2 separate regions of the Homo sapiens genome follow, and region 2 is linked to region 1. Evidence: promoter capture Hi-C in 16 types of primary human blood cells and fetal thymus (Javierre and others, 2016). All regions are on one chromosome and are shown on one strand. Each heading gives the region's core, a stretch centred on a gene start or on the middle of the fragment in contact. The rest is flanking DNA. Distances are from core to core; before and after follow the strand shown.

Region 1 (6,952 bases), core at 1,626-4,125:
CTAAAAAGTAGCATACAATATTATACAGCTTTCATTTAAAAAATATTGTAAAAAATAGACATAACATAAAATTTACCATTTTAATCATTTTTAAGCGTGCAATTCAGTAGCATTAAGTACATGCACAATGTTGGACCACCGTCACCATTATCCATTTCTAACTTTTTCATCATCCTAGGCAGACCACTTTGTACTCACTAAACAATAACTCATCCTTCCCATTTTCCTGGAGCTCCTGGTAACCTTTATTCTACTTTGTCTCAATGAACTGCCTAGTCTATCTGTACCTTGCTTTTTTTTTATTTTAGTAGACTGTATATGCTAGAGATCACTCTCTAAGAGCATACAGAGTTTCTCTTCATTCATATTTGACAGCTGCATAATACTTCACTGAATAGATGAAGTCATACACAACAGTTGCTTGTTCATGGGAAGTTTGTGTTTCTAGTCTTTCACTATTATAAACAGTGCTGCAAAGAACAGTCAAATGTATGCACCATTTCATTTTTTTTTGTCTATGTATCTTTTATATAGGTTCCTAAAAGTGGAATTGCTGGATCAAAGGGTAAAGGCATAGGCAATTCTAGAGCATTTAGATTTAATGTGATGGACAGGAATGAACCATGAAGCCACGTAAGTATTAAACAACAGCAACAACAACAAAAAAAGCAGATACAGGATGTTTTAAATGGTATGACTAAAACACTGCTTTAAACCAGGAGATAGTTACATTAGTTAGCTCTTTTAGTTTAAATAATTTTATTATTTGAAGCGAAGTACGTGAAAATAACTGTATTGCTCTTTCTCTGGATTTTAACAAATCGGTGTCTCACATGAAATTATGTAACTCTTATCTTTTCTTCTGCTTTATGAGAATACTGTAACAAGGGGTACTACCTTCAGACCCTTTGACTACATGGAGAAATAAAGGAGGGAGTTGTGCCAATTACTGGAGAATTTTGGCTGTCAAATAGCACATCTGGGCAATTTGGGCCAGAAATACATATATATGATATATGATATATATATGATATATGATATATATGATATATGATATATACGATATATATGATATATGATATATATGATATATACGATATATGATATATACGATATATATGATATATATGATATATGATATATATGATATATATGATATATATGATATATATGATATATATGATATATGATATATATGATAGATCATATATGATCTATCATATATATCATATATCATATATCATATATATGATATATATGATCTATCATATATATGATATATCATATATGATCTATCATATATATGATATCATATATATGATATATGATATATATGATATATGATATATATCATATATATGTTATGTGTATATATGTATATATGTACGTGTATATATATACACACACACACACACACACACCCTCCTATACATATTCAACATTTTCCCCTTTAAACTAAGGTTTTCTAGGCTTGAATAAACCAGACACTGCTCTTTTGTACTGTTTCGCAAACTGTGCTTGGATGGTCTCTCCTTGTTTTCAGGAGTGTTTGATTTTTAAATTGTGATATTCCACTAAATGAGAAATGACCAGGACTTCACAGAGATTTCATGAAAGGAGGGCCACAAAGGAAGAACCCAGAGCAGGCCGGTGAGAGGCACTCTAAGAGGTACAGAGGGTTGCACCAATTGCTAGGATTTAATCAATCAGAAGGGGTCCAAGCCAGGAAGCAAGGGCATGCCCCGAGCCTCATTTACCCGCCTTGTCACCACCCTGCCCGCTAGTACATTTCAGAGTCTCTAACCCCTCCCTGCATGCAAGCCCAGGCAGAGTCCTGCCAGGTTTCACACCAGAGCACACCCCTGCACGGACTCCCCAGGACCGCGGCGCCGGCTGGCTGCCTCGGCCCCCCGCGGCCGCGTGAGCTCCCTCTTGGTGGTGGAGGGCGCATTTCAATCTGGAAACTCCCAGCCCCTAATTTGGTCCCGCAGACTGACGCCGCTCCCGGTGGGGCGGTGGGGGTAGGAGGGCAAAGGGGAGGTCTCCTCCTTCTTGGATTGAGGCTGCAACCAACAGCCCCGTGAGCCTCTATTCCTGGCTGACTGCGAATCCCCCCATCCCAGGTCAGGGGCCGGGACCCTACAGAAAGACCCGTTCTCATCCTCAACCTTGCGGCCTCTGTCCGGCGGGGAAGTTCAGCTGCGGGTCAGTTCAGCTGCGGGTCCGGCCAAGCCTGGCGCGCTTAGGCACCCTAGTCCCTGGTCCGCGGCCGGGCGAGGACGGAGGGGGAGGGGAAGGGGCTGCTGCCTCCTTTCCCAAATCCGGTCCCTAATCGCCCCATCCCCCGCCGTCTACTCGCTTTGTACAGGCAGTCAAAACAGAGCTAGCGGCCAATTGACGGGGACGGGAAGCAAAGCCGCCTAGCGCCTCGCCCCCTCCAGCCGGCCCCCCGGGCCCCTCCTCTCGGCGCCCGGACCTTGGCCCTCCCTCTCCTTTCCCACTTCTCTCTTTGCCCTAACTTCGCCCCCATCCCCCGCTCATTTCCTCTCGCACCCGGGCTCGCCAATCCCTCTTTCCAAGTCCCTCTTCCAGCCCGGCCTTCCTCTCGGGTTCGCCCCCCTTCTCCCCAATCTCCGTCCTCTTCCCTCCCTTCGCCCTCCCCCCCTTCCTTCCTCTTCCCCTCACCCAACCCTGGTTCCCCTCGTTCCTCAGTCCCGATCTCTCCCTTACTCTGTCCCCGCCCACTCTGCGCCGGCCTCTCAGTCCGGGTTGAGCCCCACGTGTGGACGGCCGCGCCCCCACTGACAGCCGCCGCCCGCCGGCCCGCCCCGCGCCCCGCCGGGCCTCTAAAACCCCCGCGCCGCGCCCTCCACCGCCGCATCTTCTCCAGCGCCCAGCCTCCCGCCCTCTCTCTTGCTGGCCGCACGCCCCGGCCCCGCGCACCTCCGCCCGGCTCCGCAGCCGCTACCCGCGCTTCGTTGCCCTGTGGGACTCCGAGCGAGCCCGGAGGGAACCCTCCTCTTCTTCTGGGGGCGACTTTTGTTTGCTTGCCTGTTTCTTTCTGGTGACTTTTGCAGCTTTCCAATATCCGTCTTCGGAGCGCACGGGAATCCGCCGAGCTCTGCGTGCAGGCCCTTTTTTCTTTTGAGGTTCACATTTTTTGAAATTTTACGCCAGGGCTTTTGTAATTTCCTCCCCCGCCCGCTGACGGTCCTGGAGTCGCTCGGGGCTTTAGGCCGGTTATGCAACGTGTACCGCTCGGGGCTGCCGGCTGCACCTCCGCCGCGCCTCGCCGCTCACTGCGCTAGACCCGGCGCCCCGCGTCTCGCTTCGCGGGCAGTCAGGGGGCCGGCGCTCTGTCGAGGTCTCCAGCTAGAGCAGGGAGCCCGAGCCCGAGGGAGTCCCCGGAGCCGACGAAGGGCTTATTAGACCCTGACTCTTTTCTGAGGCGCGCAGATTTTGTCTTTGATCACTCCCTCTCCGCGGGTCTACGGCCGCGCGCTTTCGGCGCCGGCGATGGGGAGAAGACGGAGGCTGTGTCTCCAGCTCTACTTCCTGTGGCTGGGCTGTGTGGTGCTCTGGGCGCAGGGCACGGCCGGCCAGCCTCAGCCTCCTCCGCCCAAGCCGCCCCGGCCCCAGCCGCCGCCGCAACAGGTTCGGTCCGCTACAGCAGGCTCTGAAGGCGGGTTTCTAGCGCCCGAGTATCGCGAGGAGGGTGCCGCAGTGGCCAGCCGCGTCCGCCGGCGAGGACAGCAGGACGTGCTCCGAGGGTAAGTGGGCAAGCGGCTCCGCACCTAGGGCTCCGGCTTGGGGGAGGGGGGAATCCTCAGTTTGGCGGCTTTCTGGCCCACTCCGTCCCAGACCCTTTAGCTGGAGCCTAGAGCTGCAGCCCCCTTTGCCAGAATATCCAAAGACCCCCAGGAGCGCGTCCCCCTTTTCCTTCCCAACCCCGCAGCTCAGCGGGCGGAAAGCCCTCTCTCCGGGGGTTGGGCGGCGGGTGGTTAGGGGGTCCAGGGGTGCCGATCGCAGAGCGTGTGCAGAGCTCGCGCTGCGGGAACAGGTTCTGAATGTCCGGCGGCAGGCGGGCCTGGGTCCGCCTGCTGCAGGGGCCAGAGAAGCCTGCTTGCTCCCCACGTCGGGGCCGCCGCTCGTGAGCCTTTTGTTTGAGGACGTGTGCAGGGTTCACAGCTCACCTTCTCATCGTCAACCCGAGCGCTCCACCTTGCGACGCGCTTTCCTTGACACGTCGGGGCCAAAGTAACAGTTGACCAAGGAGGAATGGATTTGGGAAGGAGGGCAAGGATTCTTTGGAACGGAATGGTCCCTTTGTTCTCTGCATCTGGAAGCTAGAATAGTAGCAAATTATATGTTTCCATGCCTCTTTTCGCCCTTTAAAAAGGCAGGCAAGGGACGACAGATGAAAGGCAGTGTTTAGACATTTCTGACCCTCCTGCATTCCAGCATCTAGCTCTTTTGCTTCCACGTCTGCCTCCCGATCTCCAATAATTTGAAGTGTAATTTTGATTTGTTTGTTGTCCTGAAATCTACTCGCTCGGGGCATTGCTTACGAAGACCGTTTATATGTTGCTGCATCCCTCTACCTATCTGTTACGTGACCGCGCTTGTCCATCACAGGCCCAACGTGTGCGGCTCCAGATTCCACTCCTACTGCTGCCCTGGATGGAAGACGCTCCCTGGAGGAAACCAGTGCATTGTCCGTGAGTGCTTGGCAGGGATCGCAGCTTGGGGCAGCGCACTCGGCCCTATCTCCGGCCGACCTCTTGCACTCAGCCATTTGGACGCATAGTTGCGTTTAAAATCAAGTGATCACATTGCACTGATAATCGGGACGCGGCCCCATTTGAATAGTGGGGAAGACTCAACCGGTTTGAGTCAGTTCAGACTTCACTTCTAGACTCTGTTGAAGGGCAATAATGATAAAGATTTCAAAGATAATTGAAAGTTTTATCTTTCTATGTCTATTAATACAAATTGGAAGAGGGGAGGAGTAGAGCAATTATCTAGATAACTCAAAACCACTTTTTCTGTAAAAAATCCAGATGAGACCACATGTTATTATGCAAATTATCAGGCTTTTAACTCTGCTTGAGGTTTGGGCCTTATGAAGATCAAGATTTCTTAGGCATTTATATAAAACCACTTTCTTATTTCTGGTTTTATATCAACAACCACATAACCTAGATACGAAAGGAGCATTCTCGCGGATTTAGTGTTGACCTAAGTTAACAAACTTTTAAAAGACAGAACTCTTACAAAGGGGCTTGAGTTTTTTTTTTTTTTTGCTTTTTGGAAGACGTTTAAATTTAGGGTTTCCAGACCCTGAACCTCAATAGTGTGCAGTAGATTTCCAAAGTATGAATCTTAGACCTTGAAAAATTCTGTATCTCTGACCTTAAAAGTTTTGATTATTTTATTCTGTTTCCAAAGTGTATAACCAGTTCTCCAAGTTCTAATTGGAGAGCTCATTAGTTATCAGCCTCACAGTCACGGACTCTGGGATGTCTTATTTCATATGCCTGTAAATTTGTGACTTGCAGTGTGACTGGCCTTCTCCTGTGTGTTTATGTAGCACAACCACATTTGTCTTGTTGGAAGGAGAGCCAGGTATCATAGACAGCACATTCATTTAGAGCCAGTCTTGACTTTAGATTGACCTCCATGTTCTCCAGGGAGAAAATAATTATGCAACTGTGAACAGAGAAAAAGGGCAAGGCACACTAACCAAGGGATAATAAGGATGTAGTGGCATTTCTAACTCTGTATTTATTGGTTTTGTGGTTTTGAGATAGATGCTTAATGTTATTTCTGGGCAGTTTTTAAAAAAGAGATGAAATCTCCAGTGTCATAAAGACTAATTTCTTCTTATTTTTTCTACCTTAACATCCCACTATTTCCAATGGCAAAAATAGGAAACAACTGTGTTATTTAAAGTGACTTATAAATATTTTGAACAAATCCTCTGATTATAATAAGCCTTTGCTTTATTTTTTAAAAGAACATGTTCTGCATTCTTTTCTCTCCAACACAGAAGTCATATGTGAGGCATTAATGGAGGGTGGGTTTACTCTTTCAGGCCAGTAGGGCATTACCATGGCTGCTTTAAACTTACACGGTTTTTTAGACTCCTGAAACAGCTAACGTCACTCATCACACACCTGCCATACTAGCTGGGAGTGACTTAGGCACGGCGGAAAGTCTGACTCACTAAATGTAATGAATGTGACTGCCATTATTGAGTTGGAGAGCAGCCGAGGAGGAGGGATTGGTTCATGGTACGTGTTGAAAATCTGTAAAGTCAGATTTTATTGGATCAGTGTGGAATGGGAATTCCAGAGAGCAGAGCCTTCCAGAATATTTGCAGTAGAAATATATGTATGGCCCCACTGATCACTGGTAGAAAATCAGCTTTGAAAATCTCAGGGTAACAGTGACTATTGTAATCTGCATTTCTGAGACTTGAAATATTTGGATGGTTATGAGCTACATTGGAATTTACACGTATCAGAAATCTATGAGAGTAAACTTTGAAATGATCTTTATATCTGTAAGAAACATTTATAACACTTGTGTCAAGACGTATCTACAAAAATATTTATTAGAAACACATCTAAAAATTCTAAGTACCTAAGATTATTAAACAGTGCACAAAATAGGGACAGTGTAATACCTTTATATTCTATTGCATGAGTCTCATTTAATGCTAATAGCCTGCATTCAATTCAGTAGTTCAATTAGTCTGACATTTAAAATGATCATATGTAGAGGTAATAAGTGAAATGAAACCGTTATAAACTCAAAATCAAGAATTTTAATTCCAGGCCTTCCTGATGATAATGAATTAAGTAAATTATTATATTTATTGGATTTATCTGTATCACACCATTTAGCAAAAGAAAGTATCTGAGACCATTTACAAAAAAGAAAATAAATA
Region 2 (6,952 bases), core at 2,002-4,501, 1.0 Mb after region 1:
TCATTAGCTCCCTCTACTGTTTCTGAAAAAAAATAAAAAGCCGACAAATTTACAAATCACTTTCTTATATATTAGTTTCAATGAATTTTAGTTTTGAGCTTGAACTGAAAATTGTGGAAAATGAATTCATATTTGTAAATTTGAAGGATAAAAATCAGCAGCAAAAATAATCTGTCAAATGCTATTATAAAAAGATAAATGCAACTACAATAATTTCCATCAAATAAGGTTACCAACTTCCATATCACATTTATACAATGCTTCACAATTTACAGAAATCCCTTGTTTTAGTCTCTAATTTCAGTGAAATGTACTCACCATTTTGTCTAATAATCATTTCTACTTAGGATTTTCCTCAGTTTACTCTCTGCAACTAAATCTTGAAAAGTCTTCTTTCTCAGACCTATAAACTCTCTCCAACTTGCAAAACCTCTTGGGAAATCTTCAAATACATTCTCAATCTAAGTATGTGACTTGTTCCAGTTTTTCAAGTAAAAATCGCCCGTATGAATGCTTATGGTTTATCTTATATATATACAACTAGTTTAATGTACAATTATCATGTATACATACTTATTTTACCCATTTGCTGTATTTTTTTTTTCATTTCTAGATTAAATTCAAACCCTACAGCCGTCAGTTACCTTTGCTAAATTTTATTAAGTCCAAACACCTACCACCAAAGAAACTCTTATTGGCAATGTATACTAGGGCTCAAATTCAAGAGAAACCTACTAGAGAAAAGAAGCATTTCAAAGTGCATGTGCTTTTGGCAGCTTTGCTCTGTGTGTAAGGACAGACCACTGTGAAAAGTGAAAAGGCAGAAAACATGTAATTTAATTCATATTATATATAATGCATTACATTTAGATAGGGTATAACTACTGCCTAATAGCCCCTAATATAGAAAAGTGGTTTTGTGGTATGTGAGTATGCATATGTGTAAAAGAAAAGGGCTTCATATTCTATTTAAATAAAGTACTAAATACAACTCAAAGAACACCTCAAACTTATGTAGCACTACCTAGTAGAATTAAAAATAATCTAGTGTCAGTGTGGGTTTGTGTTTAGTGACTAATTATAATTAATGCAACAGACTTTTTCCCCAATGAAATATGCTATGTCAATTACCTCATTCTAATGCTTTACACACATCAAATGAATGCAGGTAAAGGGTCTATGTGCCTGGCTCAGGGGATGTTCTCAAAAAATGCAGGCTATTATAAGCTCCTTCAAATAAAACAACAGAATGTCATATATGAAAATGTGTTTCTCCTTAAACATAAATACAGTTGATCGATCCTATTAGTTTTGTGGATTCCATTGACTACACATGAAATTTATTTATAATCTCAAAATCGGACATGCACAGAGCTATGAGAAATTTGAGTTGCCTGATGCATACACTCCTAGCTGAGGCTGAACAAGGCAGTGCCCTGACTTCTTCTTTCAGCTGACACAATGTAAACAGGTATCCTTTTTGGGATCTATTTAGCACCTCTTTTTTGCATCTTTGTGTTTGTTGATGTTAACTGCTGTTTTCAAATGGCCCCCAAGTGTAGTGCTGGAGTGCTGTAGTGTTCCTAAGCACAAGAAGACAATGATGTGCCTTAATGAGAAAACGAGTGTGTTAAATAAGCTGCATTCAAGCATGAGTTACAGTACTGTTGACTGTGAGAGTTCAATATTAATGAATCAAAAATATGTGCATGTATGTGTATAAAAATGTATTTAAACAGAAAGAGGCATAAAACAAAGTTATGTATTGACAGGTTGGCAAAATGTGACCAGAGGCCCACAGTATCCTAACCATCGTATCTCCCCTGGGAGCAATGGCTCAGTATTCACAAATTCAGTCTGTAGCAACTTTATGGAACACAATTATGTTGAAAAACAAGAACTGTCTGTCTTACAAATAAGATTTCTTGATGGATTAGAAGTGGGTAATGAGAGAAGTCAGGGCTGACTCCAAGGTTTCTTGCCTGAGAAAACGGAAGGCTAGAACTGCCATCAATTAAGGTGAAGAAGGCTAGAGGGAGCAAGTGTGGAGGAAAGAAGTTTAGTTCTAGACATATTAAGTTTGAGATATTCAAGTAAACTTGTCAAAAAGGCAACTTATATATAAATCAAGAGTCTACAGGAAGGTCTCAGGTGGAGATATAAATTTGGAACTGTTAGCACAGAGACAGTATTTAAAGCCATGGGATAGTCTGAGAGTGAATTGATGAGAAGGTGACCGTCAGAAGACTGGAGAGAAGAGGAGGAATCAGCAAAGGAAGTACAGAAGGAGTGAGCAATACATGAAGGAGGGAAAAACTAAAGTGTGGAATCCTAGAAATCAAGTGAAAAAAGCATTAAAGAGAAGTGCATGATCAACTGTCTCAAAAGCCTCTGGTAAGTCCAATAAGATGGAGAACATTAGCACGAGCCTGAAAGCACTATCAGTAGAGTGCTGGACATCAAAGCCTAACTGAGGTAGACTTAACTGAATGTGAAAAGGATATGAGAAAAGTGCTGCCAACTCCTTGGAGTTTAGCTGCAAAAGGAAGCAAAATAGGTCATTAAGTTATAGAGGAAGGGAGGTCAAAGAATTTGTTGGGGTTTCCTTTGGTTTTTTCTTTTTTTTTCAAGGTGAGAAAGATGTTTGTATGCCAATGAACTGTTAATTTGTTCTTGCATGACTGTATGCTGGTAATAACACAAAGAGAGGAAAATAAAGTATGAAAGAGAGGACGGAATTCCTGGAACTTACATATTTTTAAGCATTATCAATAGGGATAATAAAAGCTTATGGGATTCAAGGGATATTATCATCTCAGTAATTGATTTGAATGTTAATGCTGGATTAAGAAGATCTCTTTTAGGACTAACTATTCCTTTTGTGCTCTCTCAATGTTTCTTTCCCTCCCACAATAATCAAAACCTATCTTAAATTTCTTTAAATTAAAACTCCACTATATCTTCATAATACGATAGGGCTGTCTACTAAAAGCAAAGTTCATTGTTATTTCAGTATGTAAAAGTCTATTAGCTCCATAGAGACAACAGATTATCAGAATTGTGAAAAAATTAAATGCCAGTTTCCATGTCCTGAAAATGGTGTTCTGTTACTCACTTTTAATCCAGCTGCATAGCCCACTGGTTGTGGGGCAATATTGGACTGTCCAGCTTCCCCTACAACCACAGCTAAGCCAAAGACCTCCTGGAAGGCATCTCGGACAGCAGCAACTTTTACTTCTTTATTTGAGGTCACTACAATATCCAGTTCACCTCCAGATTCTAAAAAGACCAGAGGAAAATTTAACTTTCAAATTAAAATAATGAAATTCTCATAATTACTACCATACCAGGTGCTAACATCTAATATACATAATTATTACCAGTTTCATAAAACCATGCAAGATATAGATCATTATCTTTTTTATATGCTTGAGAAAACTGAGGCCAACAAAGTTTTGCCCAAGGTAACGTATCTACTTAGCACTAATGTCAGGACTCAAAACTGACATTACATATCACAAGCCAGAAATCACATATCTGGCTTGTGAAGTGTAAGTTACATATTTAGTATACTCCACGGAAAATTAAAATAAAGACTTACTGATAGTAAGTGATTTGTCAATGAGTTGCAGAGAAGTTATGTACTAAACAAGCACTACCATGAAATATACTTTTTAACCTAGAAAATAGTTTAAATATGGGGTCATCAAGCTTTTTATTAAATATCCCCACAATGTTCTGAGCATACACCACAAATAGATATTTATCAATTATACATGTACTACTGCCCTAATATAAATATGCAAGCATATATGAAATTGAAATAACACATAAAACTTAAAATTTAAAATATTAAGAGTAATACGAAATAAAAATATTTTCAAATATTTTTAATTTTTCAATTACTTAAACAACCTAAGTACTACTATTTCTAGACAGATCAATTTGACCAAATGTTTCATTATTTTTAAAAATCTTAACCAAACATTTCTGTGATATAATGAATTCAAAGCCCTTGTTCTAAACACAGCACATTTTGATATTTGGCATTAATAGTTATCACCGGCAAAAGAGATTTTTCATGAAAATTGTTTATAATGTAAAACATTTTGCCCTAGAAACAAGGTTGTTTTTCCCTAATAAATATCATGTGGAACAGGGAAAGATATTTTCAAATATTTGGGTTTTAAAAATAATGGATCCCTTTTTCCTGACTGACATAATGTCTCACAGATCACATCTGTACTGGATACTTCAGAAGTTACTAGGACATAAAAGAGAAGAAGAATATACTTTTTTTTTCACTTTTTTCCTCCACATGGGACACATCTCTCGACCTTAGCTAAGTACTGCTCCATTAAGCTTCAGCTCAAAATGGCTTTTCAGCTTGTGATGAGTAGTCCTGCCATTTCTAATACTTTTTGAGTTTCTTGACACATACGAAATTGTTACATCAAATGATTTCTAGAATATTTGTGTAAAAATACCTTAAGATGGCCGGGCGCGGTGGTTCACGCCTGTAATCCCAGCACTTTGGGAGGCCTAGGCGGGAGGATCAAAAAGTCAAGAGATCGAGATCATCCTGGCCAACATGGTGAAACCCCATCTCTACTAAAAATACAAAAATTAGCTGGGCATGGTGGCGTGCACCTGTAGGTCCAGCTACTCAGGAGGCTGAGGTAGGAGAATCGCTTGAACTCAGGAGGCAGAGGTTGCAGTGAGCTGAGATTGCACCACTGCACTCCAGCCTGGCGGTAGAGTGAGACTCCACCTCAAAAAAAAAACAACAAAAAAAAAAACCTTAAGATTTACTTTGAGTTGTTTTGTTAGATCAGAATGGTGATGCTTTGCTGTCAGTAAAGATGTCAGCTTTCTTAAATTCGATTTTATTACTTTTTAAAGCTGATAAAGTTATGACATTTGCTAATAATAGAAATTTCATTTCTGTACCTTTCTTTTTTCCCCTTCGGTGTTACACATTTTTCTTGATGGCTCTACCTTTATCATTTACTAGCTTCTTTACCTTGTGGAAGTCACTGAGCTTGTTTCTTTGTAGAAAAATGCCTGCTATCCAGCCTGGCCAACATGGAGAAACCCCGTCTCTACCAAAAATTAGCTGGGCGTGGTGGCACACGGCTGTAGTCCCAGCTACTCAGAAGACTGAGACATAAGAATAACTTGAACCCAGGAGGCAGAGGTTGTAGTGAGCTGAGATCACGCCACTGCACTCCAGTCTGAGTGACAGAGTGAGACTCTGTCTCAAAAAAAAAAAAAAAAAAAAAAAGAAGAAGAAGAATAAAAACACCTGGCACCTCATAGGGTTTGCTCTAAGGATTAAATAAGGTAATTGCTTTCATAGTCTAACATAGTACAGCCATTAAAACAGCAAAAGCTCCAAAAATATTAATTCCTTTTTTTCCTTCATTCAAAATATGTACTTGCAAAGAAAAGAACATATATGGTGGACTCCAATTTTGAATTCTTTGGACAGTTACAAACACAAAGAACAACTCAGTTGATTTAATGCTTGATTCAATTTTCTACTACAAGGGAAGCAAAGTGGCTAAGTGTAAAAAAATTGAGCATGAGTTCAATACAGCTCCACCAAGTTGTGTGATCTAGGGTGATAACTTACATCCCTCCAAACCTAGATTCCTCGTCCAAAACTTGAGGAAAATACCTACCTTGCAGAGCTCTTATGAGAAAGTGCCTGGCAGAAGCATTCAATAAAGACACTTAACAATTGCTAGGCCTTATCTTTTGATATTTACTAGACAGTAAACTACCAACATAGTCAAGACTTGTGAAAGCTATTGGCTTTTTATTGCCACTGAAATCGCTGTTCAGGTACCTGCTGCACAATTTTGACTTAAAAGTTATCTTTTACAGAATTACTAATAATTGGTCACTAAGCCTTGTGATATTTTTTCACATATTGGATATGTACATAAAAATTAAATAGCAGACAGTATCTATCAACTGTCTGGATGATTCTGGATGATTAGTGTTCAGAGGTGGTTAAAAATAGCTTTCCCAATATACCCAGTCATTAGATATTATTAACTAGATTTGCTTCCTCCAAAAATATTATCCCTCAATTACACACAAACATTTAATTAAAATAGATAACAGGAGAAATGTAAAAAAAAAAAAAAGTATGAAACAAACATCACTTCAAATGTCAGTAGTGAATAAAGTAAAATTCATATAAAGCAATGCTAACCTATATTTAAAATTAAAATCAGCAAGTATACCAATAATTCATGGTTTTTACTCCTTCTAGGATCATTCTGTGGGATTTTCAAAATTTATTTAATGACTTTTAAAAAAGATGAATTAGTAACACCAAAAAATAAGACTGACAATTAAATTAATGCAAGAATATAATAAGAATTTCCACTGATTACACAATCAGTGGAAACGAACAGAGAATTACAATTAGTGGCTGATGTGGACATACCCTTAAAAAAAAAATGGCAGATACCGGTCTAACTTATGTACATACTGATATAGGGAGCCATGCCAGGGTCCAGCGTTGTAATCATGCTTTCTACTGAATGTTTTGTCTTATCAAGCACAGACTTCACCATAGGATTCCCAGCCACACCCTGCATAAAACAAATCAATATGTAAGTATTCACTCTAAGTGAGGAACACCATGATCTTCATGATTGTGAAGAAAACTTTTTTAAAAGTTTCCAATGCATCCTAAACCAGTACTTTTGTAAGATATATAAGGTCATGACAATATCAAATTGCTATTAAGTTTCTAAATGATACTCTCAATTTTTTTTCCTGACTCAGCAGTGTGTAGACCAGCAGCAATCTACAGATCACGCTTTGAGTAGCATGGGTATGGAAAGGATGCTATACTATATATACATATATATGTGTGTGTATATACATATATATAATTTCACTTCTACTTATTTATATAAAAGATTGGGCAAAA

What was found. The method cuts DNA at HindIII sites, captures the fragments that hold promoters and counts their contacts. A CHiCAGO score of 5 or more calls a contact.
Region 2: a contact is called between a fragment that was not itself captured here and the fragment with the promoter of FBN2 in region 1, in 1 of 17 cell types (monocytes). The highest score is 5.1, in monocytes.

What each region holds. Positions count from the first base shown.
Region 1 is chr5:128,534,168-128,541,119 of GRCh38, reverse strand. FBN2 (fibrillin 2) reads left to right here and starts at 2,875. Exons shown (of 65, transcript NM_001999.4): 1 at 2,875-3,770; 2 at 4,636-4,718. The coding sequence starts at 3,517. RefSeq lists enhancers at 2,049-2,549, 4,275-5,205. The HindIII fragment of the contact is 14,548 bases long and covers 1-6,952 here.
Region 2 is chr5:127,529,950-127,536,901 of GRCh38, reverse strand. PRRC1 (proline rich coiled-coil 1) reads right to left here. Exons shown (of 9, transcript NM_130809.5): 5 at 6,506-6,608; 6 at 3,116-3,279. Among named protein-coding and RNA genes, the nearest start is that of PRRC1, 16 kb to the right of the region's middle. The HindIII fragment of the contact is 924 bases long and covers 2,790-3,713 here.